Regions from separate parts of the Homo sapiens genome. Here all the other regions are linked to region 1. Evidence: promoter capture Hi-C in 16 types of primary human blood cells and fetal thymus (Javierre and others, 2016). All regions are on one chromosome and are shown on one strand. Each heading gives the region's core, a stretch centred on a gene start or on the middle of the fragment in contact. The rest is flanking DNA. Distances are from core to core; before and after follow the strand shown.

Region 1 (5,263 bases), core at 1,400-3,899:
AAACAACAGAAACATCTGTCATTTTTTATAATAATTCTGTTGTCCTACTCACTGGGTGGCAAAAATGCACTCCCACTGCCTTGCATTGACCTGCCAATCTGGAGGCGATTCACTCCCCACTGACAGCCAAGTTTCACTGAGTTTTGGTCAAATAGAACAATTAAATCATCCTTTGGTTTTCCAAGCAGCTAAAATAATTTGAGAAAATAAAAACAAGCCATCTTTTAAACAAAAATGCATTACCTCCCAAAATGAAAAATTCATTTATCTCCGAATTGTCACCAGTAAGTTTTAAGGTTATAGCAAGCCACACCATGCAGTTCTTGTATAAGATGAATAAAATATTCCTGACTAATAACTCAATTCTAATTTTAAACAAATGCATTCAAACTGAGTTGAATACTTAGTTTGTATCACTCCCACAGTGTAAAAACCTTGCTTGGTTCTGATGTCGTTGACTGCTGGCCATAGACGATGAGGTCTCAATCTTACTAAGAGATTAAGGTTGGATGACAGTACCTTATCTCTCTGACAATGTATCCAACTCAAAGAGATAGCCTAGCTGGGCATTCAATTTCAGCGTTTTCCACTGTATATTAGGAAATGGGGACCTCGTCTAAGTTTCTGTTTGTTTTACTTTGTTTTTGCCGAGCAGGAATTAGCTGAACCCTGTTGGCAGCTCCTCCAGAAGCCCACGTGGGGTGGACCCAGCGACCACTTCCCATAAGACTACAGGCTCATCTACTGTTCTCTGGAATAAGGTTTCCTGGAGTACAAGTTCCAGTCTGTCCCTTGGTTTTGCCAAAGACAGATCCGCCTACTGACTATTCTCTGCTGTAATGACAACTGTGCTCTAAGACAAACAACTTATTCTTAGTGGAAAACAATTAATTTCAGCCATCACATGTGTTCCTCAACAGCCATTTATTCACACTGGCCCATCTTCCGGTATCAGACTGATACAAAACCCCCAAAGACTTGCCTGATGACAATTGAATGAGTGTCATGTATTTAACGGCATTTGTACTTTATTGCATTGCTTCCTGTTTTTTTTTTTTTTTAAGATGGGGAAATCTTTATAAGCAAAAAGATGATTAATTCTTCCCCCTGTCTTTAACGGCCATTCTCTCCCACAATCTCTAGAGAATCTCCAAATCTAAGTTGCGGGGAGGGATGCTGGGGAGCCACACTTTTAAGCAAAGTGTTCCTGAGGTTTTAGCTTAGACATCTACAAAACTGGAAGATTCCGTTTTATGGGGACATACGGACAGAACTCACTCGTTTTAGAACACTACTTAGCCAAACCTCTCAGCGAATCCTATACGGAATAGTCTTTAGCAGTATACATTTTGGAATCTTCTGTGTGCCCCAGAACACACAATATGGATCCAATTAGATTCAGCTGCCTTATGTTACAAACAAACATTGAAAGGGAGAAAACAGAAGTGGGAGTGGGAGCTTTGTTCATCCTCTCCTACGCCCCCGCGACCCCACACTCCCGAGGCGCGCGCATCCTCCCCACTCACTCGGGCAGCACCCACTCCCTAAATAGCCCAGCGTGGCCGGTGCCCCGCGAGCGCTCGGAGCGCTTTTCCGCTGCGGGCTTTTCACCGGATCTGGAAGGGATTTACCGGAGGGACTGGAGCCCAGCGCAGCAACCCCACCCCACCCCCACCGCCCCGGCCCGGGCGCGCCCCGCCCGCTCCCCGGCTCCAGGACTTACACCAGCGCCGACGGACAGGGCATCTGGTTCCAGGCACAGTTGTACTGAGCCTGAATAAAACTCTCACTTCCCTCCAGCACGGAGCAGCTCACATTCTTGTTCACGATGTAGGCGCACCAGTTCCTGGGGTGCAGGAGAGAGAGGGAGAGGGGCACGGGGTAAACCCGGAGAACAATGAGGCCAGGGGAGAGGGGACTGCGGCACCAGACCGAGCGAGGGTCGGGGGGGCCCGTCGCCCTCTGCGGAGGCGGGAGCTTCACCGAGCAGACGCCGGAGGGTGCCCGGGTGCGCCTCTGGAGAGCGCGCGCCTGGACCCGACCAAGACGGGAAAGAAAAGCACCCATGGTCCCAGGGGCTCATGGAATTCCTGGGAGTCGTTTTCGGATCGCCCGGGTCTGCGGGACGCTCTCTGCGCCCACGCCCCCGGAGTCAGCTCTGCCTGAGGCGCCGGCTGCGGAGCGCGCGGTCCCCCGCAGAGGGAGCCGCCCGGGGAAGTCCAAGGGAGGCCCCCGGCTGCCGCTCGTCGTCTTTGGCAGGGCAGCTCTGGGGCTCAACTGGGGGCCGGGGAGGGGTAGGCGGTTTGGGGCCAGCCAAGGGGCGCGCACTTACTTGTTCCTGGCGCTGGGCCGCGCGGGATACCCGGGCTGCGGGCCGGCGTGGCACAGCCCCGCGCCAACCAGGGCCAGCAGCGCCAGCGCCCAGCGCCAGGGCACGCGGGGCCAGGGCCGTCTGGGCTGCCACATCCCGCGCGCAGCGGGCGCGCCCCGCCTGCCCGGGTCCGGAGCGCGGCGGATCGGGGCACCGGCCACAAGGCTGCCGGCGGCCAGGGCGCCGCCCGCGAAGGCAAGAGGCTCGGGCGCTTCGCGGCGCTCCAACCAGTGCTCCGCGGCCGCCCCCTCCGGCTTCTCGTTCCTACTTCTCCTTCTGCAGCCCCGTGCGCCCTGCGCTTCTCCCCGGTCCCTCAATGACGCACAGGTCCCCCCGGGTGCCGCCCTCTTTATTTCACTTCCCTCTCCGAAACGTGACTCTCCCCCCACCAAGTCTCCCCGTCTCCAGTCCCTTCGCTTCTCGGCAGGGGGCTCGGGGTGGAGGGGCGAAAGGGTTTGGGATAAGGGTCTACGTTACAGCATTTCCAATGACTCATTCCTTTGGTCTCTTCCCAGATGCCGAGCGACTCCGCCTCCCACCTTCCGACAGGCTCGCTCCCGGCCCCCCGGGACGCGGCCGCCGTCGGCGAGTCTGGCCGTCCTCGCGTCGTGCCTGGGTGCCAGCCTCCCGGGGCGAATGAGGGACATGTTTATCAGTCCCGCGGGGAGAGGAGTGGGGGCTCGACTCGAATTTCCTCCTCGGGCAAGACAGGGCCGTTCCCCCACCAGCTCCATGGACCTAGAGAGTCCAGGAGGAAACGAACGCTGGTTCTTTCTTTGCCCAACTCTGCCTTAGGCACCATCTGACAGTTTCCGAGGCCACGCGGGGGGCGGCAGGACAGGACAAGCCACAGCCCCGCCAATTCCCAGAGGCTGCTGCAGCTCAGCGTCCGGCTCTATCACTTACTGCAATTCTCCTCCAATTCTTGAAAGGTGATCTCACAGCCTCTGCTTCTGAGGTCCCACTGTGAACTTTCTTTTTCTATTGAAACTAAGGCATTTACTCACGTTTGCTTCTTAACAGTTCAGGCACTGCTAGACATCCGTCTTAAACTTTCTTGTATGTTTTCTGCCTGTTGTTGAGTTACACTAATCTCTACCGATGTCTTTTTGGGATGAAGTACCAGAATGTTAAGTAAAATCACCACCCAAGTGTTGTATTCTAAGGGGTGTTGGAGAGAGCTGTGTGTTTGAGATGACCTGCTGCATCTAATCAATGTACAGGGTCGTGAGTGGCGTGGTTACCAGACTCCACAGATAAAACTGTGGCCTCTGTGAGCTAACCAGACGCTGTTGGCCATGACTCGTTAAGTGAATAAAGCTTTGCTATGGGCCAGGCGGGGTGGCTCACGCCTGTAATCCCAGCACTTTGGGAGGTCGAGGCGGGTGGATCACCTGACGTCGGGAGTTCAAGACCAGCCTGACCAACATGGAGAAACCCCGTCTCTACTAAAAGTACAAAAAAAAAAAAAAAATTTGCCGGGCACGGTGGCACATGCCTGTAATCCCAGCTACTTGGGAGGCTGAGGCAGGAGAATCGCTTGAACCAGAGAGATGGAGGTTGCAGTGAGCCGGGATCTCACCACTGCACTCCAGCCTGGGCAAAAAGAGTGAAAATCTGTCGCAAAAAATAAAAAATAAAAACGTTTGCTATGTTCCTACTTTACTAAATGAAGCCATTGGTCTATTTTGTTTCTAATATTCTTTGATGGTGTTGTTGGACCTTTTGATTTGCAGATGAAAGAAAGAGAAGTCCCTAAGTAGAAACTACAAGGGCCAAGCAGAACATTATACCATGTAAGGACATCATCTGTCCCTGGACTCTTAAGCGGAAGATCATGCAAATAGTGGACTGAAGTCATCCCAGCCTTCAAAAGAGCCACCGTGGGGGGGAAATAACAGAAAGGGATAAAAAGCTGTCTTTCGTAACCCAATCTGTATCTTTCTGTGTGACTTCCCTATCCTGCCTGTCCTAACACCATCTTGGCCGTAAAGACTCATAGAGTAGAAACAGAGTATAGAAATGAAGAAGAGGAAGAGGGGGGGAAATGGGGGAAACACACAAGTTGTGTGTGTCTACAATTAGCAGAGAACAACTCCAATGTGTGTCTGGTACAGGTAAATCTCAAACTTGAAAGTGCATTGAACTGATCAAGTCAATCTGTTTTTTCCGTCAAATCAAAGTTATAATAGGAAGTTGTCTAAGAGTATAAGGGCCAACTTGTCATTGAGATGACCACAATACTATATTTAATCAGCTATCAATAACATTTATTGGTAAATAAATTTCATTCTGAGCATCTGTTACAAGCTAGGCATTGTGCAAAAATACTGAGGATTCATGAGTGAGCCCAAACTGACACGGGGCTTGTGTTTGGAGAGCTTCCAGGCATTGCCATGCAATGAAGGGTGTTAGCGTTCCTGATGGACAGTCAACTAAGTGAGCTAATGTTTATTGCATGTCTTTCTCTAGACATAAGCCCATGTATGTTATTGTGGGTCTGCCCCTGGAAGACAGAACATTCTTGACTTTCAGAAGGTTACTTCCCTCTTTTGTATTTTTATTTATTTATTTGGGGGAAAGGGTCTCACTCTGTCACCCATGCTGGAGTCCAGTGGCATGATCATGGCTCACTGCAGCCTCGACCTCCCAGGCTCAAGCAATCCTCCTACCTTAGCCTCCTGAGTAGCTGAGACCACAGGTGTGTGCCATTACACTCAGCTAATTTTTTGAATTTTTGGTAGTGATGGGATCTCACCACGTTTCCCAGGCTGGTCTTGAACACTTAATCTCAAGCCATCCTCCTGTCTTGGCTTTTTAAAGTGCTGGGATTTCAGGCATGAGCCACTGTGCCCGGCCTATTATTCCATTCTTTTACTTTTTTGTTTTTTT
Region 2 (5,263 bases), core at 978-3,477, 130 kb after region 1:
ACATTATATCATACTTGCAAAAGAACATAGAGTAAGACATAAACACCTTAACAACTTCAGCAATAAATCCAGTCAAAACATAAACTTTAGTGAAGCAATTTATATATGACACTAGTCACAGAGGATAGCTTGGAGCTAAATTACCCAGATATAATAAAATTCACTAATATTTTAAATAATTAAAGTTGAACACCTTACACACAAAAAAAATGAAGCTGAAAAAAAGAGTAAATGCTTAGCAAATATCAAAGGACAAATACATATTGATCCTTCAAATTACCTTGCTTCAAGAACTGGCTGAATATCAGTTACTAGTTGACTGGTATGACCAAATTCATCCTGAAACTCCAGAGGGATATTAAATGGAACTCCAACACGAAAAGGAAGATCCAGAAGACCAAATGAAAATTTCTCTGGCTTACCCTCTTTAACAAAAACAAAAATGAAATGAAAAGCAAGTACATTGGTCAGAAAAGCCATTGGGGGTCAAAAACAGATCCATTTCTATCTGAGAAATTTTAGAAATCTATTTTAGACTATGCTAAAAATAACATTTTAAAATCAGCGCAAAAATTATATGTTATGCAGACAATCCACTTGGGAAAAACCTCCTGAGTAGCTGGGACTACAGGTGTGTACCACCACACCTGGCTAATTTTTGTATTTTTTGTAGCGGCAGGGTCTCATCATGTTGCCCACACTGGTCTTGAACACCTGAGCTCCAGCTATCTACCTGCCTCCCCAGGCGTGAGCCACCATGCCCAGCCATTATACCTTTTCATAGGAAAGAGCTTTAAAGGCAAAACACGATATTCAATAGTTATAAAATGATATATATGATGAAGTTAAATAGAAGCTCGACATGAGAAAATATTTGCAACATGTGTAACAAGGAAAATTCAGACTACATGAAGCCCTCCTATAAATTGGCTGTTCTCAAAGTGTGGTCTCTAGTCCTGAAGTTTTAGCATCCCCTGAGAACTTATTAGAAATGCAAATTCTAGGGCCTATCTCAAACCTGCTGAATCAGAAACTCAGGGTGAAATTCAGCAAGCTGTGTTTCCTTTCAGGTGATTCTGATACAAACTCAAATTTGAGAACCACAGCTTTAAACTATTAAAATGGGCATAGTAAATGAACAAGCATTGGCATACAATGTCCAATAATGGCTAGAAGAGGTACACAATCTAAAAATTAGAGAAGCAGTTTCACCACCAACTATGCTAAATGAATATATAGTTCAGCCAGGAATGAGCATGCAGTCAATTGGAACTCTCATAGTGAGAAGTGAAGGTACCATGGCATAGCCTTTTGGGATGTCCACTTCTTGGTATCACCCTAAAGAGATTCTAACATACGTACAGAAAGCAGCATAATTTTTTTTTCCCCAAAAAGCACTACGGTTTCTAATAGCCAAAAACTTGGAAACAATCAACACGATTCATCAACAGGAAACTGCTTAAACTACAGCACGCCCATCTTATGAAAATATGTTCCACAGGTGTTAAAAGAACACAGTAGATTTATGTATAAAAAAGTCTCCTAAAACATTTAAAAAAAAAGAAAACCACACTCCAAGGTGGGCCTTCTTGATATCACAGCTACCTAGATCAGTTCTCTCCAAAAACCCTGTAACAATGACTCTACAAAAGCAGTAAACAAGAAAAAAGATGAGAGTAATAGAATTGGAAAGCCAAAGAACATATGAGTAAGTGTAACTGACTTAGCAGAAAGACCCAAGAACATCAAATACTCAAACAACAAAGCAAGCAGAGACTGAATCTGATTCACCGTTATCAGACGCCCATAAGTCTCAGGAATGGCTGTATAAAGTTGTAGTGAAATTGAAATAAAACAAGAAGGTTGGCTGAAGTCAGTTTGAGAAACAGTTTCACAGATCCCCATCCTTCAATGCATGTGCTAGTCAACGACCCTCCTCATCCCCAGCAAAAGATGGAAGGTTTATTCTTCAGGGAAAGAAGAAAAGGTCTAGAAGTGAGAGACACAGCACTACTAAAAGTGTCACTGACCAGGCGTGGTGGCTCAAACCTGTAATCTCAGCACTTTGGGAGGCCAAGAAAGCAGGATAGCTTGAGCCCAGGAGTTCAAGGCCAGCATGGGTAACATAGTGAGACCCTGTCTGTATTTTAAAATCTAATCAATTAAATGTAAAAGTGTCACTGAAAATAGGAAAGTGTTTATTGAAAATAGGAAAATCACGTGGAAAATTATATACTAAATATGAGGACCGCCCCCCTACAAACATAAATGGTCTTTCTCAGCTTGGTTCCCAAAATGCTGGCAGCTAGGTCTTGTACCCTTTTAGCAGGTGACTGAAAGGCTCCACTCCGGGGAATCTGAATAGCCAAAGAGACAAGACCTAAAAATTCTCATATCATAATTACCCCAAGGAAATTTTCAAGTGCCCTATTCTTCAATGTTAGCAAATCACTAATTATATAACAGAATATCTAATAAAAAAACAACATGGAGGAAACAAACTATGAATCAGGAAAAACGCTGTAAGAAAAACCCCCACTATTATTAATATCCTCAGAGAATAAAGATACTGAATTCATGAAGTAGGAAGAGAATGCTTAAGGAATTGTTTAACAAGATTATTTTAAAAGAGATTTTAGAAACTAAAAATGGTAGCAAAAAGGAAAAAATAGAAAGCATAGAACATCAAGCTGTTAAGAAAATCTCCAATAAGGTAGTAAAAACAAAACCAAGAGATGGAAAGTAGGAAAAACAAAAATAATATACCAATCCTGAAATCCAACATCCTAACATTAGATATTTTAGAAAGAAAGAACAGGTTGGGCACAGTGGCTCAAGCCTGTAATCCCAGCACTTTGGGAGGCCGAGGCAGGAAGATGGCTTGAGGCCAGGTGTTTGAGGCCGAAATGGGCAACATAACATAGCAAGACCCTGTCTCTACAAAAAAATGTTTTTTAAAAATTAGACAGGGCCACGTGCGGTGGCTAACATCTGTAATCCCAGCACTTTGGGAGGCCGAGGCTGGCGGATGACCTGAGGTCAGAAGTTCAAGACCAGCCTCACCAACATGAAGAAACCCCATCTCTACTGAAAATACAAAATTAGCCGGGCGTGGTGGCATACGCCTGTAATCCCAGCTACCCGGGAGGCTGAGGCAGAAGAATCGCTTGAAACTGGGAGTCAGAGGTTGCAGTGAGCCGAGATCACACCATTGCACTCCAGCCTGGGCAACAAGAGCAAAACTCCATCTCCCAAAAAAAAAAAAATTAGGTGCAGTGAACTGCAGTCACACCACTGCACTCCAGCCTGGGCAACAGAGGAAGACACTATCTCCAAAAAAGAAAAAAGGCCAGGTGCAGTGGCTCACACCTGTAACCCCAACACTTTGGGAAGCCAAGGAGGGCAGATCATGAGGTCAGAAGTTCGAGACCAGCCTGGCCAACATAGTGAAACACCATCTCTACTAAAAATACAAATAAATTAGCCAGGTGTGGTGGTGGGCACCTGTAATCTCAGCTACTTGGGAGGCTGAGGCAAGAAGAATCGCTTGAACCTGGGAGGCAGAGGTTGCAGCCAGCCAAGATCATGCCACTGCACTGTATTCCAGCCTGGCCAACAGTGTGAGACTCCATTGAAAAGAAAAGAAAAGAGGGGAGAGGGGAGAGGGGAGAGAGGAGAGAGGAGAGGAGAGGAGAGAGGAAAAGAAAAGAAAAGAAAGGAAAGGAACAGAAAAGAAAAGGAGAGAAAAAGAAAATAGAAAATCAAAGTGATTCAAGAAAAATTCCTAGAAAATAAAACAGGGATTTCCAGACTGAAAGGGTATACGAGGTACATGGCTGGATGATACTAGATAAAAACAGGCCTATGCTAAATCATACAATTGAATATTTCAGAAACTGGGATTCCCCTAAAACTTGAGGACTGGGGAACAGAGAACGTTTTGGGGGAGGAGGGGCAATATGCCCAGGGTCAGGAATCAGGACAGCTTTAGACTTTACCAGCAACAATGAAAAGTAGAAAACAATGTCTTCAAAATTCAGAAGGAATATGATTATCGAGTAGACTTACAAAGCTATTTGAAAATCAAAATGGGCCGGGCACGGTGGCTCACATCTGTAATCCCAGCACTTTGGGAGGCTGAGGCAGGTAGATCATCAGAAGTTATGAGATCGAGACCAGCCTAGTCAACATGGCGAAACTTTGTCTTTACTAAAAATACAAAAAGCCAGGTGTGGTGGCGGGCGCCTGTAATCCCAGCTACTCGGGAGGCTGAGGCAGGAAAATCACTTGAACCCAGGAAGCGGAGGTTGCAGTGAGCCGAGATTGTGCCACTGCACTCCAGCCTGGGTGACAGAATGAGACCCCATCTCAAAGTAAGTAAGAAAATAAAATAAAATCGAGATGGTTACCCAATTGTTCAAACATCTTTTAATGGCTTATCTCTCTTTTCTCTTTGGATTTAAAATGCCACCTTTAGCATATATAATTATATATTACTGTTTTGCTTACCTTTAACAGAAAACTTAATTGCTTTAGATGGTAGTGGTCTTCCTGCATAAGTGTCTGCATTACTTTCATTCAACACAACTTGTAATTTCAAGGTATAATTCCCCAACTTCTGAATATTTTCTGGATAAATTAAGAAGAAATTAAAAATCAAGTCAACACAATACCAATGTATTTTTTAACATTCAGAATAAGAACTCACCCATTTTTTTAAACCAGTAAGGCCATTTTCCTCCATGTTGACTAATATGCGAAATAATCTCTTTATTTCCACTTGAAGCTTAATAAAAGAAAAAAGAAACAATAGTGTCTTGAGAAATTCAACGTAAAACATGAAATACGCAATGTCACATTGGCACCAAATACCTATTTGCTGTATTTTAAAACCTGCTTTGAAGCTTCAAAAGATCTAACACTATCCTATGAAAGTGAACAGCAATAATAATAGTTAACTCTTCAATTCATTAAAATCTCTTTATTTCAAGTCTTATAAACTCTTTCACTTTATTTAAAATTACTATTTAAAGAGAAAGGAAGACAACAGAAGACAAATAACATGACCTCTCCAAAAAATTCCTTATTTATTGCCCACTCTAGAATTATATAATGTAAATATTAAAAAAAACAAAATTTTTAAAAAGGCAATTCATGAACAAATCCGAAATGTTTATCAAGTAGGTAACATGACCACACAGACCAAAAAGAGGGAGAAAGAGAGAGAAAAGCAGTCAACCTTACCCACTTGGAAACAGTACAA
Region 3 (5,263 bases), core at 1-2,500, 110 kb after region 1:
GGAAGTGGTCTGAAATTGTTTAACAAGTTAGAAGTCTTTAGTGACACCATTAATTGAAGTAGTTCCAACATGCTACAGAATAACACATATATAATGTTCATATCCAATAACTCAAATACAATAACACTCCTTCAAATAACTGTTTAATTTATATAATCTGCTATTAATCCAAAAGAAAATAGGAAAAAGACACTTTGCAAAGATAGTAGAGAATATGGACCAAAAACTTACAGACATGTTAAGTCACAGTATTTATGCTGGATTAAAAGGAAATTATGACAAGAAAACAGATGAGTTAACAACTCATTGAGAGATCTCATTACGGTCAGAATGCAGTACATTTGAAAATTCTATCTCAAAAACAGAACTATCCTAAGTGTTGGGTAAAGTATAGAAATGGGTAGAGGAATTAAAGTGCAAGAGGTTATTGGAAAAGAGGTGGCCAAGAAATTGATAGGCCAGTGTAAAGGTTTTTTTTACACATTCACTTAATTCTGTCCCTTCAATATGAGTTCTACATATTAACTCTGGTTGGACTCTCAGCTTTAAAAATTCTCACTAAGCAATGAAAGGATTTTTCCTTCTGAACAACACTGACTGATCACACTGTATCTTTTGTATTTTTCACGTCTTTGTCATTTTGCAGGTGTTTTCACTGTTACTGGCACTAAACTTTCCTTTAATGAAGGTTCCAGCTACTAGAAGGCCAATTCAGTGCAAGATTACAGTGATAACAAAAATTAATCGCTATCACCAATGACACTTTATTCCAAAGACAATCTATTATATTTCATAGAAACCGTAATATTTTTACATTAAAAACAACTTTCATATATGTGCAATGGAGGACAGTATTTTGTTGCCATAGGCTGCAAAATATAATGAGTCCACAAACCTTACTGTAAACGCACTTTCCAAAGACACATGATCATCTTGGAATGAAACCTGGCAATAGCGCATATCTTTTACAGATGTTGGTACTTGCACATCAGGAAGCAGACCCTGTAGCAAGTGTTCTTTGTTAATCTCAGGAGTCCAATTAACCTAGGAGAAAAAGAGATATTTAACAATAATAAAGCTTCGTCTAATGTTCTCTTACTGCCACTTATCTTACTCTTAAAACTACATTATAATCCGTCTTCTTCACCCCCAAGAAAAAAGTCTCTTTATGGTCAGAAACGGTGTGGTTCATATACTAATATGATACAAAGGCATCCTCTTTGTCTTTGTTGTTAATATTGCCCTATTTTTTTAGTGAGATAAAATAAAAATTCTTAAGTCATTTCTTTAGAGCTCTGCCACAAAAGTATCACTGTGGCCATTATCGTTTAAAAGTAACATATAAATCAGATCATGTGATTAATTCTGAAAAGCAATATTCAATTATTTTTTGAAAAGAATCCTATTTATGGGAAAGCTTTCAATGAGATCTAGGTGGACGTTATTCTTAGCAAGGTGAGAAAAAAGAAGTTTGATCTAACTTTCTGGCCATACTTTGGCCTTAATCTCTTCTTAGGTGTTTTTAGTTCTGTATTAATTTATACCTCTTACATTCCATATTTTGTCACTTAATCCATACTTTTTCAAGTTGTTTGCTCTACTCTGTACTTACTTTTAAACTCCCAATACTTTCTATTTAAGAATTCTGACCTCAACTTTCTCTCTACTTTTATTTAGCCTTCTATAGTTGTGATTTTAAAATCACTCATATTCTATTTTTATTTTTGGTTTTTATAGACAAGGTCTCACTCTGTAGCCCAGGTTGGAGTGCAATGATCATAGCTCACTGGAGCCTCCAATTCCTGGGCTCAAGCAATGCTCCTGCCCCAGTCTCATGAGTAGCTGAGATTACAGGCATGCACCCCAGGTCTGCCTAATTTTTTGTTGAGATGTGGTCTCACTATGTTGCCCAGGCTGGTCTTAAACTCCTGGCCTCCAGCAATCCTCCCACCTCAGCCTTTCAAAGTGCTGGGATTACATGTGTGAGCCACCACATCTGGCCTTAAAATCACTAATAGTCTTTTTAAAAAAAATTTCTAAATTACACTTTATTTTTCCTCTACTTTTAGGTTCAGTAGGTACGTATACAAGTTTGTTACATGGATAAATTGCATGTCACTGAGATTTGGTCTATGAGTTATCTCATCACCCAGGTAATGAGCATAGTACCCAACAGGTAGTTTTTCAACCCCTGCTCCTCTATTACCCTCCCCTTTTTTGGAATCTCCAGTGACTACTTTTCCTATATTTTTATGTCCATGTGTATTTAATGTTTAGCTCCCACTTTTAAGTGAGACCATTCAGTATTTGGGTTCCTGTTCCTGCATTAATTCACTTAGGATAATGGCCTCCAGCTGCATCCATGTTGCTGCAAAGGACATGATTTTGTTCTTTTTTATGGCTGTGTAGTATTCTGTGGTGTATTTTCTTTATCCAATCTACTACCGACAGGCACCTATGTCTTTGCTGTTGTGAATAGTGCTGAGATAAACAGAAAACTGCACGTATATTTGGTGAAATGGTATTATTTTCCTTTGGGTATATATACAGTAATGGTATTGCTGGTTCAAACGATAGTTCTATTTAAGGTTGAGAAATCTCCAAACTGCTCTCCACAGTGGCTGAACTAATTTACAGTCCAACCGACAGTGCATAAGTGTTCCCTTTTCTCCAAAATCTTGCCAACATCTGTTATTTTTTGATGTTTTAAATATAGACATTCTGACTGGTGTGAGATGGTATCTCTTTGCTTTTGACTTGCATTTCTCCATGATTATGATTATGATGTTGAACATTTTTTCACATATTTGCTGACCACATGTATGTCTTCTCTTAACAAGTTATCTATTCATATCCTTTGCCCATTTTTTAAATGGGGTTGTTTTTTGCTTGTTAAAGTTCCTTATAGATTCTGGTTATTAGACCTTTTTAGAATATATAGCTTGTTAATATTTTTTACCATTCTGTAGGCTGTCTGTTTACACTGTTGGTAGTTTCTTTTGCTGTGCAGCTGTTTAGTTTGATTAGGTCCCACTTGTCAATTTTTGTTTGTGTTGTAACTGCTTTTGGGGACTTGGTCATAAATTCTTTGCCAGGGCCGACATCCAGAATGGCTATTTCCTAGGTTTTCTTCTAGAATTTTTATGGTTTGAAGTTTTACATTTAAGTCTTTAATCCATCCTGAGTTAATTTTTGTATATGGTAAAAGGTAGGGATCCACTTTCATTCTTCTGCATATGGCTAGCCAGTTATCCCGGCACCATTTATTGAATAGGGAGTCCTTTCCCATTGCTTGTTATTGTCGCCTTTGTCAAAGATCAGATAGCTGTATGTGTACAGTTTTATTTCTGGGCTCTCTAACCTCCTCCACTGGTCTATGTGTTTGTTTTTGTACCAGTAGCATGCTGTTTTGGTTACTGTAGCTCTGCAGAACAGTTTGAAGATGGGTAGTGTGATGCCTCTCATTTTGTTATTTTTGCTTAGGATTAATCACTTTGGCTATTTGAGCTCTTTTTTAGTTCCATCTGAATTTTAGAATAGCTTTTTTCCAATTCTGTGAAAAATGACAGTAGTTTGATAGGAACAACACTGAATCTGTAGATTGCTTTGGGCAGTACTAGTTCTTCTGACTCAGGAGCATGAAATGTTTTTCCCTTTTTTAGGTATCATCTATGATTTCTTTCAGTAGTGTTTTGCAGTTCTCCTTGCAGAGATCTTTCACTTCCTTGGTTAGATGTATTCCTAGGCATTTTGTGTTTTTTGTGGCTACCGTAAATGGGACTGTGTTACTGATTTGGCTTTCAGCTTAAAACGTAGTACAGAAATGCTACTGGTTTTTGTATACTGATTTTGCATTCTGAAACCCTACTGAAGTCGTTTATCAGCTCCAGGAGGATTTTGCCAGAGTCTTTAGTGTTTTCTAGGTATAGAATCATCTCCACAATGATGAGACAGTTTGACTTCTTTTCCTATTTGGACACCTTTTATTTTTCTCTTGCCTGATTGCTCTGGGTAGAACTTCCAATAGTTGAATAGAATTGGTGAGAGCAGGCATCCTTGTCTTGTTCCAGTTCTCAAGGAGAATGGTTCCGGTTTTTGCCTGTTCAATATTATGTTGGCTGTGGGTTTGTCATGGATGGTTCTCATTATCTTGAGGTGTGTTCTTCAATGTCCAGTGATGGCTTTTATCACTAAGGGATGTTGGATTTTATCAAAAGCATTTTCTGCGTCTACTGAAACCATATTAAATCATACGGTTTTAATTTTGTTTATGTGGTGAATCACACTTTATTTGCGTATATTCAGGGTTGGTTCAACCCTGAATCTCAAAAATAAAGCCTACTTGTTCGTGGTGAATTAACTTTTTTTTTTTGAGATGAGTCTTGCTCTGTCTCCCAGGCTGGAGTGCAGTGGCGCAATCTTGGCTCACTGCAACCTCTGACTCTCGGGTTCAAGCAATTCTCTCTCTCAGCCTCCTGAGTAGCTGGGATCACAGGTGCCCGCCACCATGCCTGGCTAAATTTTTGTATTTTTCTAGTAGAGATGGGGTTTCACCATCTTGGCCAGGCTGGTCTTGAACTCTTGACCTCGTGATCCACCTGCCTCATCCTCCCAAAGTGCTAGGATTACAGGTGTGAGCCACCACGCCTGGCCCGTGGTGAATTAACTTTTTAATGAAAATCACTAATATTCTGTTTCCTAGTTTATGCTCCTCTAATGTTTTTAGTTACCTTTTTATCTTTTAAAACCATCTTTAGTCTCTGTTCTTTATTGTATTAAAAAAAAAAAAGGAAAATAAGCAAGCAAGAGTTCCACAAAAAAGATAAAAGGCTTTCCTCACTCACCCTGGCTGCGTACTCCCCTCAATAGATTCCCCAGCTCAGTTCAGGCTGACTTCCTTGTATCTTGGCTTAATTCTCTCAACACTACAAAACCACTGTAAAGGCTGTACATTCAACTTAAGTAAAATGGAGTACTCACTATCTTTTACTGTCAATGAAGAAGTGCACAGACATACATAATTACCAAATTAGAGGCAAAATGTGTCAAATGCAGGCAACAACCTTAGAGAAGGTATGATAGGGAGAGGCTCTCCAGTCGGTTTTTCTTAAACTTCTTAAGAGAGGAGGAAATGGAAGCATGATTGTGAGAAAGCAAGGAAATAGTTCAGAAGCCACATCCCTGGCACCACTATTAAACCACTACTTACCTTCAAATCTGCTTATAGAGATAAAAATGGCTTACCTCCTTTCCAAGCAGAATC
Region 4 (5,263 bases), core at 1,466-3,965, 110 kb before region 1:
CCAAAAATGAAATTAGTTGCTCAGATTGTCCCAGTTTGACTGTTAGTGTATGTCCTTCAAGTTGAGTTCCTTTGAAATGCTCCCATCAGTTTTTGAACCCTTCCTTCCTGGTACCAGAAGGTGTTCCAGAAGAAGCTACTTTCCCTGCCTCAGCTCTGGCATTAATTATTTTACGCCAGTTCCTTTTATTGAAGAATAGTATTTACGAACAAAGATCTGCTTATTAGGCGTGCTCGTAACTCCTGAGGTATCATTGCTTCTAGGCAGCCCAAGCTGGCAGAGCCAGGAAATGGGTGGATGTGTGCACGTGTACACACACACACACACACACACACACACACACACCCCTGCATCTATATATGAAAATCATGAGGGCACACGGGTTCCTCCAATTCCCATCCACCATCGCAGGCTTCTTTCCCCCTCCTTATTTATAATTTTTTTCTCTTTCAACAGGAAACATGGTTCTGATTATCGTCAGTATATCTGCTTAGTTACTCAATCCTAGGAAACACAAAATAGTTTCAGAATTGCTAACTCAAATCTCTGTGAATGTATTAACTACTGCACAATGTTTGTTTGGAGTAACATATCAAATATGTCTTTAGACTTATAATACAAGTCAAAATACTGTTTCCAAGGTAAGGTTAGTTCCATTCTTCCTCACTTCAGTGTGGTTATGTTATTCATACATAGGAGGTTTTTTTGTTTGTTTTTGTTTTGTTTTGTTTGTTTTTCTTTTTGAGAGAGTTTCGCTTTTGTTGCCCAGGCTGGAGTGCAATGGCGTGATCTCGGCTCACTGCAGCCTCCGCCTCCTGGGTTCAAGCGATTCTCCTGCCTCAGCCTCCCGAGTAGCTGGGATTACAGGCGGGCGCCACCATGCCCAGCCGATTTTGTATTTTTGGTAGAGGCGGGGTTTCACCATGTTGGTCAGGTTGGTCTCGAACTCTTGACCTCAGGTGACCTGCCCACCTTGGTCTCCCAAAGTACTGGGATTACAAGCATGAGCCACTGCACCCGGCCCATACATAGGAGTTTTATAACAAGCATTTTGACAAAATATGTTGATAAGGTTTGGATGTCCCCTCCAAGTCTCATGTTGAAATGTGAACTCCAGTGTTAGAGGTGAGCCTGGTGGGAGGTGTTTGGATCATGGGGGCAGATCCCTCATGGATGGCTTAGCACCATCCACTTGGGGATGAATGAGTTTTTGCTGAGTTGACAAGATCCAATTGTTTTAAAAGTGTGTGGCACCTTTGTGTGGCACCCCCAGTCTCTTGCACCTGCTCTCACTATGTGACGTGTCTGCCCCCACTTCGCCTTTCACCGTGAGTAAAGGTTTCCTGAGTCCTCCCCAGAAACCAAGCAGATGCCAACGCCGTGCTTGTACAGCCTGCAGAACCATGAGCCAGTTAAACCTCTTTTCTTTATAAATTGCCCAGCCTTGTGTATTTCTTTATAGCAAACACAAAAATGGCCCAACGCATATGTCTACCTGAATTTTTTTTTGACATGATATTACTTATCCCATCGTTTCACCTGGTTCTTGGGAAAATGGAACCGCCATCATCAGTGACCAATCACAGCACTGATTGTCACCTGTTACTTACGTAGTGATCTGTGGGCAGAAGAGCTGTCGGTGAAGTTGTACTTGATGCAGTTGCTCACAGCTCACATACTGAGGTTCCTGAAACTTGTGTGTATCTGAACCGTGTGAGGTGAGGCCTGCCTGTGCCATAACTTGGAAAGTGTGCAAATGTTTGACAATAATATTTCCCCCATTTTAAATTTGAAAAATAATTTTAAAATTTTTATATGTTGTAAAAATAGATGGTGAAACACTTTCTTTCAATTCCTGGTTGTCCATCTCTCCCTCTGCCAGCTCCATTTGGCTTCTTAGGGGTTGGGTAGGGGCAAGTAGCAGTGTTTCTCAGAGGCTGTAGTTCTAGGAACCTCAAAACTATGCTAAGTTTGACTTGAGAACTCAGAGTTCTGGTTTAGTTTAACTTGAAGGAAAGACTCCTTGAACATTAAGTCATACTTTGTTTCTCCCATAGATTGATATAGAAATCAACGGCAGTGCAGTGGATCTTCACATGAAGTTGGGTGATAACGGAGAAGCTTTCTTTGTTGAGGAGACTGAAGAAGAATATGTAAGTTTGCATGGGTTACACCCTCCTTACACAGTGTGCTCAGGCCTCTGGTACGTGGCCCAGACGGACCGTTTAGCAGTTTTTTATGGTTGATTGTACAGAGGACTGTTGTTGGCAAGACAAGCTTTAGTTTCATGTTGAAGAACTAAGCTGTCAAAAAGGAACTGAAGGGATGAGGAATTTTTCTCCATACAAAGTTTCAGGGTGCAGGGAGCATGCTGAATGCACATACTTGCACTTTTTCTAAGGGAAGGCACATCACTTTCTAGCTTTAATGAGCTTTCTTACTTAGTGTTGCTTCTGGTTCACATATTGACTTGAATACATTCAGTTCTGCCTGAGTAGGGCATTTCTCTTCTGGCTATGTGTTTATCCACATGTGCCCTTTGGACTGGGACTCATGTTTACCATTTTGGTTGGGATATTACATCCCTCACCTTGAGTAGTCAGGTGAATTAATTTATTATGATCTCAAGAGAGTTAAATTAATTGGCCTATATCCTTTTATAAGTGATTACATGTTTGACTTCTTCTAGCAAACGAGCATGATTTGTTAAAATCCCCCCTCCCCAGCACACACATTCTGTATGTACTGATTTGAACGCTAGTTAACGACGGATTCTTGATGGATTCAATGTGGATCTTTTTATTTATTTATTTATTAATAATAGATTTTACATTCTCACTAAAGAACTCAGATCACGTAATGTGCATCTTTTTAAAAATTCTTTCAAAGGCATCAGTACATCATTCTTCATAAAGAATAAAGTCTCAAATAGCAAAACTGATAAGCATCAAGTTATTAAGGATACAGGACTACTTTTTTGGCTTTGAAGATGAACTTACAGTTTGATACAATAAATTTACAAAGAAAATTATTACCAAAAAATACGATAGCAAAATGAGATTGTTTATCATTTTTTGATTGAGAAACCAACAACTTAGGTACCAGTAGGTAAAGCAGCATTGAAACACTATGATTTATGAAGGGGAAGCTTGATCAGACTGGTGCTTTTTCTAGTTTCTTCATTACTTATCTTTGTAATACCTTGTTTGCATTTACTTGGCCTAAGCAACATTTTTCCTTATCAGAGACAGAGGCAAAGAGCAGAATGAAACATAATAAATGACATCTGTCAAAAAAAAAAACCACTTTTTGTATGTTTCTTAAAATTATTTATAATTCATAACACTGAACTTCTAGATCAGCAGGCACCGTAAGCGAGAGGACTGGGTTATTGATGTTAACCTCGTTTTCATGGCTTATTCTGACAGTTCCGCTAAAAATTATGCTCAGCAAGGACAACTTGGAAAATGTCAACTTTCCAGCCTTTTTCTCCCTATTCCACATATGACTACATTGACCAGAGTTTATCTTGTGTAGTATGCTTCTCCTTAAAATAAAAAATTGTTAATTTATCCAACAAATGTTGGAATTACTACTCTATGCCACATGCTATGAATACAACATGCCTCTGTTCCTCTAGGGGTTCGTCATTTAGAGTAGGATAAAGATGACCAAAAACCCAGTTTGTTGCCATTTATTTGATTTTTTTCTCTCAGATTTTTCTCATTTAATTATATGTCATCAACATTCTTTTCAAGTCTAGTTCTAAACCTAACTCTGTGCTTTTAATAGCTGCACAGTATTCCATAGTATGGACATACCATAGTTTGTTTAACCATTTTCTTGCTGGTAGGCGTTCAGGTTATCTTCATCCTACAAACATTGCTATAATAGAACTAAGAAATACCACCAGAAACAAAAAGAGCTTTCAGTAAGTAAAATAAAGATCATTGAATTAAAAATCCTCAAAGTCAGAGACCACGACCTCTCATCTGGGTTTCTTTTGGACATTCAGAATATCTTATTACAATTTCTCTGTAAGTGTGTGTTTCTGGTGAACACAGATTTCTCCTAGCTAAATCAAACTTTAGCTTCAGGGTAATATGTTTATCAAAGCTAAGTTCAAAAGCTTAATAAAAAAATAATTACAGAAACCTATACATTTTCAGAACTATTGTTTAAAAGCTTGAGTATTTTAAATTATATGAGGTTAATTTTTTTGTTGTTTGTTTTGAGATGGAGTCTCGCTCTGTTGCCCAGGCTGGAGTGCAGTGGCATGATCTCGGCTCACTACAACCTCCCCCTCAGGTCCAAGCAATTCTTCTGCCTCAGCCTCCTGAGTAGCTGGGATTACAGGCATGCATCACCAGGCCCAGCTAATTTTGTATTTTTAGTAGAGACAGGGTTTCACCATGTTAGCCAGGCTGGTCTCAAACTCCTGACCTCAGGTGATCCGCCTGCCTCTGCCTCCCAAAGTGCTGGGATTGCAGGCGTGAGCCACCACGTTCTGCCTGAAGTTAATTTTTATCTCTATTATGTACCTTCCATTTCCTCTGATGATACAAAAAGGAATGAAACAAATGGCTAAGACATGAATTTACTGAACACCAGACTTGATCGTTTATTTAGTATTAGGAGTTTGACTGCTTCTAAATATTGGGCCTTATTTTCTTCTTTTGAATTCCTACAGGAAGGAATATTTCTTATTTTTAAACATAAATGCTTTATGGTTTAAAAATTTACTAATGTCATTTGTTACACGGTATTGTCTCTAATTGCCTTTCTCCAATTAATTTGGCAAAACATAAGCATTGGCCGCTCTGTATCACTGCATCCTCGCGTCACTCACCTGTCCTGCTGCCCTTTGTCTGATGTAGTGTCCTTAATCTCTGCCTTCTGCTTTTTCCTGTTCTGAATGTTCTGTGTGAGTTCTTGAGAGAGTCCTTTGTAACACCTCCTGAGATTTTTGTTGCTGCTTTGATCTTTGCTTTGTGAAGAATTTAATAGGCTTAGCTTTAATTATGGCTTTGGGGTGTTCCATGCTGACTTGGCATGTCAGTTCCTTCAGATGGACTCAGTTACATGTACCCAAGTGGGCTGGTACTTAGCTGCCTCACAGGGGAAAGACCTCGTCAGAGTATAGTAGGCAGTGCCTTAGTTCAGTGGGACTTTCTTGCCTTTAGGGAATATGTATTTTTTTTTTTTTTACCATGGTGAAAATTTATATATTCAAAATATTACTGCTTTAATTCACTGTCGAGTT
Region 5 (5,263 bases), core at 1,438-3,937, 83 kb before region 1:
CTCAATTTTGTGGGTATGAGTGTGCATGGCTATTAAGAGGAAAAAATATCCAAAAACCTGAATTTTTTTGTTGATTCAAATGGGAAACAGGTTTTGAAACTGTTACCTAGTTAAAACATAATCTGTAGTCTGCTGCCACCTACTGCTCAAAGATGAGATTTGTTTGAAAGAGCCAGTAAACCTCTGGGTCACTGTTTTTTTAATTCACATAAAAATACTGGCTTTTTGAATAAAATAAGTGAATTTGAAAATTCTCAATATCTCAAATGTGACATTAAATACCTATTCAAAGGGTATAGAGTAGTAAGCATTGGGGACTGTGAGACTTAAGGTGCTGTGCCATTCATGATTATTCTTTCTCAAATTTACACTTCATTGCATAAGGTTTCCCTTGATCACCTTCTGAAACCTGGCTTCTGTGCCTTATCTTGAAAAATGAAAATATTCAGTAACCTCATCTTTAGCTCCTGGAATAACAGTTACATCCAGTTTATTTCTGAATACATTTCTTTTTCTAGGTGGGTCTTGCCTCTAGAGAATTTGCTCGTTTAATTTCTCCTTCCTTCTTTGTGAGGTAATAGGCGAACTTAGAAAAGATTTGGTTTTAAAGAATATAGCCTTGGACTACAGTAATTTTCTACAGGATGTATAAAGTGCCACAGCTTTTTCTAGGACGTTAGGATCAAAGGTTTCCAAACAGCAGATTTTCTTAATTACCCTGTCATTTTCATCATGGAAATGTAAATAAATACTTATAACTATTTTACTCCTTTAATTAAAAATCAGAAAGGCCACAGTTGAAATGTTTGCATTATTGTGAATGACCGTGGTGATTTTGTGACGTATTTACTATATTCACAGTTAATTTCTCACTGGTACTATATTAGGTTATCTTTCATGTCATTTATGATATGATTCTAAACCCTATCTAAGAAAAGTTATGCCTGATTGTAGGTCCATCCGTTCTTTTTAGCGGATGTGTTATTTGGTTTGAGCCCCCAGAGAACCATGCAGTAAACTAGGAATTCAAGGAGTTGTAATAAAGCACATCTTTTCCCCATCCCCTGTCCACAGTGAATCGGAGCCCGGTTCCAGGCAGTGGCCCGAGTCTGACACACTCTCTGGCTCCCAGTCCCCACAGTCCGTGGGAAGCGCAGCTGCAGATAGCGGCACCGAGTGCCTCTCAGATTCTGCCATGGACTTGCCTGACGTTACCCTCTCCCTTTGCGGGGGCCTCAGTGAAAATGGAGAAATTTCAAAAGGTACGTTGGGTGTTTGTGCCCCATCTTCATTTCAGAGAGCAATCTGGTCATCACTTGGTTAAAACTTACCGTGTAGCCATTTCAGGATATTTACATTCTTTAGGGATCTTGTGCAGGTAACAGGTATGTTCTGTAATGTCAGACCCTTATACCCTCACTTAAGGTCTTAATTGACACCTCTTTATGGAGTGGCTTTGAGGTAGTGTGCCCTTAAAGGCTCTAATTTCAAATTAAGAGGTTGGGAGTTATCAGGCCGCCCTGTTTTCTGAGCTGCCAGGGTGCGATCATCACACTGCACCAGTTTTCTCATCTGTAAAGTTACAGAAACATTTGTGGAACTGGGGCCCAGCTGCCCTTCTGGAAAGCACTGGGCCTTAGACATGAATATAGGGCCCTGAAGTTGTAGAAAATTGATTGTCCACTGAGTACGTGGTCTTTCTGGCAAAAATTAGGAGGATTACTTTCTGTATAAGGCTGGAGGGTTGGCCTACGAGAGTAAAGCTTGCTCAGGAATCAGGAGGGAGTTTAGCAGACATGTCAGGATGCCTATAGGCTGGGCTGAGTGCCATGTGCATCCGTCCTCAATTCATCAGCATTTTTTTTTAACCTTCCTTTTAAAACTGAACTCTTAGTATTTCTCAGTTTGGCCTGTGGCCCCTGTATGATTTTCTTCTAAGGGAAAATTTTCTTTCCGTGACTAGTGTCATCTTTTGTCTTCCCTCTCCCTTAGAGGAACTGAAGGTGTGATGTGGCAGACTGCATGGCCAGAGGCTCAGGACCATGTGTTCCTGAAGTCTTTCCTTTCCAGGGTCACAGGAAGCTCATTATGCCTCTTCCCTGTCTCTTCATTGTTTGTTTGCTTTATATTTTGCAAGAAATTTAAAGTGTGTTATGGCCAATGGTTCATTCTAGGGACTAAGTTAAATAGGTCACATTCTTTCTGTAATCCTCTTAAATGTTCAGTTTAAAAAATTATATGCGAGGGAATGCGAAATACAAAATGTAGGTAAAATATAAAAGTTACACCTTTGTTTTAAATATTGGTGACTTAGTCTAGTAGAGTTTATTGGAAGAGGCAGAAATGACAAGTAAATGTAAGTAATACACACATTACCTGGAGAAACAATCCAAGTGAGCAGTTTCTCTGTTAGCCTAGATCTAGGAGAATACAGGTTTAGGAACAGGGTACAAAAATTCATGGGAAGCCCTCATTCACTCTGCAAGAACTTGGGATTTATTTCACAGACCTTGAGCCAAATTCTAGGTTTTTTTGTTTTGCCTTGTTTTGTTTTTTTAATTCTCCAAGCAATTGTAACATGTAATTTTTGTTGTTGTTTTTATTATTTAAGACAGAGCCTTGCTCTGTCACCCAGGCTGGAGTGCAGTGGCACCATCTCAGCTCACTGCAACCTCCATCTCCTGGGTTCAAGTGATTGTCACGCCTGCCTCAGCCTCCCAAGTAGCTGGAATTACAGGTTGGCACCACCATACCCGCCTTATTTTTGTATTTTTAGTAGAGATGGGTTTTCACCGTATTGGCCAGGCTAGTCCCTAACTCCTGACCTCAAGTGATCGGCCCACATCGGCCTCCCAGAGTGTTGGAATTATAGGTGTGAGCCACTGTGCCTGGCCCAAACAATTTTAAGATATGTTTTGATATAATGTAGCTTGCTAAAGCTGTAAGACCCCTATGAATATTCCCCAGTTATGCCGTTGCCTGTCAGTAAAGTTTCTTCCTCTGAGAATAGAACTTCGACAGTTTTCGTGTGTGTGTGTCTGTCTGTCTTTCTGTGTCTGTCTTCCGTCCCTCTCTAGCCACATCTGTATGTATTTTTTTTGAAAGTCTCTGTCATGTCCCTTTTTACTAGTTTGTTTGTTTTCACTGGGAGACAGTGGAAAAGGAGAATAGAAAAGAAGTGTTCTTTCTTGTCCTGGGGAAAAAAAGCGTCTGACATTTTGCTTTTGATGAATATTCAAAAATTAGTTTTTTTAGACAGATGATTTTAGCCTTCAATTTCTGCAATGCAGAGAGTATTATAATCTCATATAGGGATTTATGTAATCTCTAACCAAATTGATTATTATTTTACATTGCAGAAAAATTCATGGAGCATATCATTACTTATCACGAATTTGCAGAAAACCCTGGACTTATAGACAATCCTAACCTTGTAATAAGGATATATAATCGGTAAATACTCCTGCTTTTATAATTGTTAAATACTCTTGCAGTTTTTTTACAAGTGCCATTTTTAACTGTTACTTATAAAAGTGTTCCTTCTTATAAAACTTGTCATCTCATATAAATTAGCCAGTGGGCAATGACTTTGAAGTGAAAGTAAAGCTTCAATTTTATTTTTAAAAGAAGCATTGAAATGTTACTCTGTTTGATAGATTTTACGGCTTCTCTGTTCAGAGAAGTTGTGCTTGAAGCGAAGGTTATTCATGTGACAAAAAATTCAGCTGATCATCTTTATTGAAAAGAATAAGCAATTTTATATGTCACTTCCCTCCTCCCTCCCTCCCTGATTCCCTCCCCTCTCTCTTGCTCACTTTCACTGTGTAATGGTTTTGCACAATTTTTGTTTCTCACAGTTACTATAACTGGGCTTTGGCAGCTCCCATGATCCTTAGCTTGCAAGTATTCCAGAAGAGCTTGCCTAAGGTGAGGCGATCCACCATCTGCTGCCTTTCCGAAAGCATCCGCAGTGTCTAGTACTTACACAAATCCATATGTGCATATTTCTGAACTGGGTACTATTCAAAGTTTTACTTGAGCTTAATATTTAATATAAAAGATCAAAGTCATATGTACCCACTAAAAATATCTCATGCCCAAACTCTGGGAAATTAGCAGGGCTGCCACTTCTTTATTTCATTTTTATTAGACATAAATACTAGTTTCTGATGGTCTGTAAAAGTTGAGAGATTTTACTAATCATAAGTTAAATATGGAATGAATGAAAAAAACTTTTTCTCCCATTAATATGGGAAGAAGCAGCAAGAAGAAGGTGATGTAGCCAAGAGAAGCTTGACATCAGTGTGGTTAGGGCAGATGGTGGCTAACATACCTGTTATATACAAACTCACAATTGGTTTTTAATCTGTCCCCCAAGAAGACATCATCAGCCTAGTTGGTCCTCTTAACTCATGAGAACCACATTTTCCAAAGATAGATAAATGAGATTTGCCCACCTGTCAGCCCCTAAGGTCCTACATAGCAGACCGCCTGGTCTCATGCCACAGAGCTGTGCTGCCATGAAAGCAGGACGGGGTCTGTCTCTCAGAGGTGTTAAAAACGCTAGAGGAATCTGGGAGGTGTGAAGAGAGCATCGGTCACGTTCTCACATTCCATAGTAAGGCCCCGTCCTTCAGGCTAGCATAGAAGGTAGGTGCTGTGTGGCCAGTAGATTGCCCAGACTAACCCAGGTTGGTTGTTTTCAGGCCACAGTTGAGTCCTGGGTGAAAGACAAGATGCCAAAGAAATCTGGTCGCTGGTGGTTTTGGCGAAAGAGAGAAAGCATGACCAAACAGGTAACAGACCTAGAGGTCATTGTTTCCGTGGGCTGAAAGAAATGAATCTTTCATTTATTCAAAAAACCTTTTTGTCAGGCACAGGAATTTGGACTGTATAGGGCTATTTTACCATATAGCAGTTTCCATTTTTGAGCACTTAGGACGTGCAGGTGTTGTCCCAAGTGGTCCTTTACTGTAGCTCAGCACTAGAGATGTTCGAGTTGCCATTTCACAGGTAAGGAAACTTGGGTGCTTCACGAAGTCACATAACTGGTGAGAGACGGAGCTGGGGCAAGACCTTGAGTCTGACTCCAGAGCCTGTGCTCTTTCTGCTTCACTGTATTACCTATCAGATAGGAGCAGAAGGTTATCGTCTGCCTGCATAGTTCCAGATGCAAATAACCAGAATCTGTTCCACCAGGTCTCCATAGAAATTCATCCAGAGAACCATACTAAACAAGCAGCAGAGCAAGTCTTTTTTTCCC

What was found. The method cuts DNA at HindIII sites, captures the fragments that hold promoters and counts their contacts. A CHiCAGO score of 5 or more calls a contact.
Region 2: a contact is called between a fragment that was not itself captured here and the fragment with the promoter of EMILIN2 in region 1, in 1 of 17 cell types (monocytes). The highest score is 7.9, in monocytes.
Region 3: a fragment that was not itself captured here is called in contact with the fragment with the promoter of EMILIN2 in region 1 in 1 of 17 cell types (monocytes); the score reaches 7.6 in monocytes.
Region 4: a contact is called between a fragment that was not itself captured here and the fragment with the promoter of EMILIN2 in region 1, in 1 of 17 cell types (monocytes). The highest score is 5.0, in monocytes.
Region 5: a contact is called between a fragment that was not itself captured here and the fragment with the promoter of EMILIN2 in region 1, in 1 of 17 cell types (monocytes). The highest score is 5.6, in monocytes.

The regions. Positions count from the first base shown.
Region 1 is chr18:2,844,392-2,849,654 of GRCh38, reverse strand. EMILIN2 (elastin microfibril interfacer 2) reads right to left here and starts at 2,649. Exons shown (of 8, transcript NM_032048.3): 1 at 2,333-2,649; 2 at 1,724-1,846. The coding sequence starts at 2,466. RefSeq lists silencers at 1,672-1,761, 2,382-2,431. The HindIII fragment of the contact is 11,570 bases long and covers 1-3,693 here.
Region 2 is chr18:2,717,681-2,722,943 of GRCh38, reverse strand. It overlaps SMCHD1 (structural maintenance of chromosomes flexible hinge domain containing 1), which reads right to left. Exons shown (of 48, transcript NM_015295.3): 18 at 4,709-4,786; 19 at 4,510-4,629; 20 at 281-425. Among named protein-coding and RNA genes, the nearest start is that of SMCHD1, 65 kb to the right of the region's middle. The HindIII fragment of the contact is 5,122 bases long and covers 1-4,788 here.
Region 3 is chr18:2,734,178-2,739,440 of GRCh38, reverse strand. It overlaps SMCHD1 (structural maintenance of chromosomes flexible hinge domain containing 1), which reads right to left. Exons shown (of 48, transcript NM_015295.3): 26 at 896-1,044; 27 at 1-9. Among named protein-coding and RNA genes, the nearest start is that of SMCHD1, 81 kb to the right of the region's middle. The HindIII fragment of the contact is 339 bases long and covers 1,081-1,419 here.
Region 4 is chr18:2,951,394-2,956,656 of GRCh38, reverse strand. LPIN2 (lipin 2) reads left to right here. Exons shown (of 20, transcript NM_001375808.2): 3 at 2,058-2,153. Among named protein-coding and RNA genes, the nearest start is that of LPIN2-AS2, 13 kb to the left of the region's middle. The HindIII fragment of the contact is 871 bases long and covers 2,280-3,150 here.
Region 5 is chr18:2,927,255-2,932,517 of GRCh38, reverse strand. LPIN2 (lipin 2) reads left to right here. Exons shown (of 20, transcript NM_001375808.2): 9 at 1,075-1,262; 10 at 3,360-3,453; 11 at 3,858-3,927; 12 at 4,707-4,796. Among named protein-coding and RNA genes, the nearest start is that of LPIN2-AS2, 37 kb to the left of the region's middle. The HindIII fragment of the contact is 1,843 bases long and covers 1,766-3,608 here.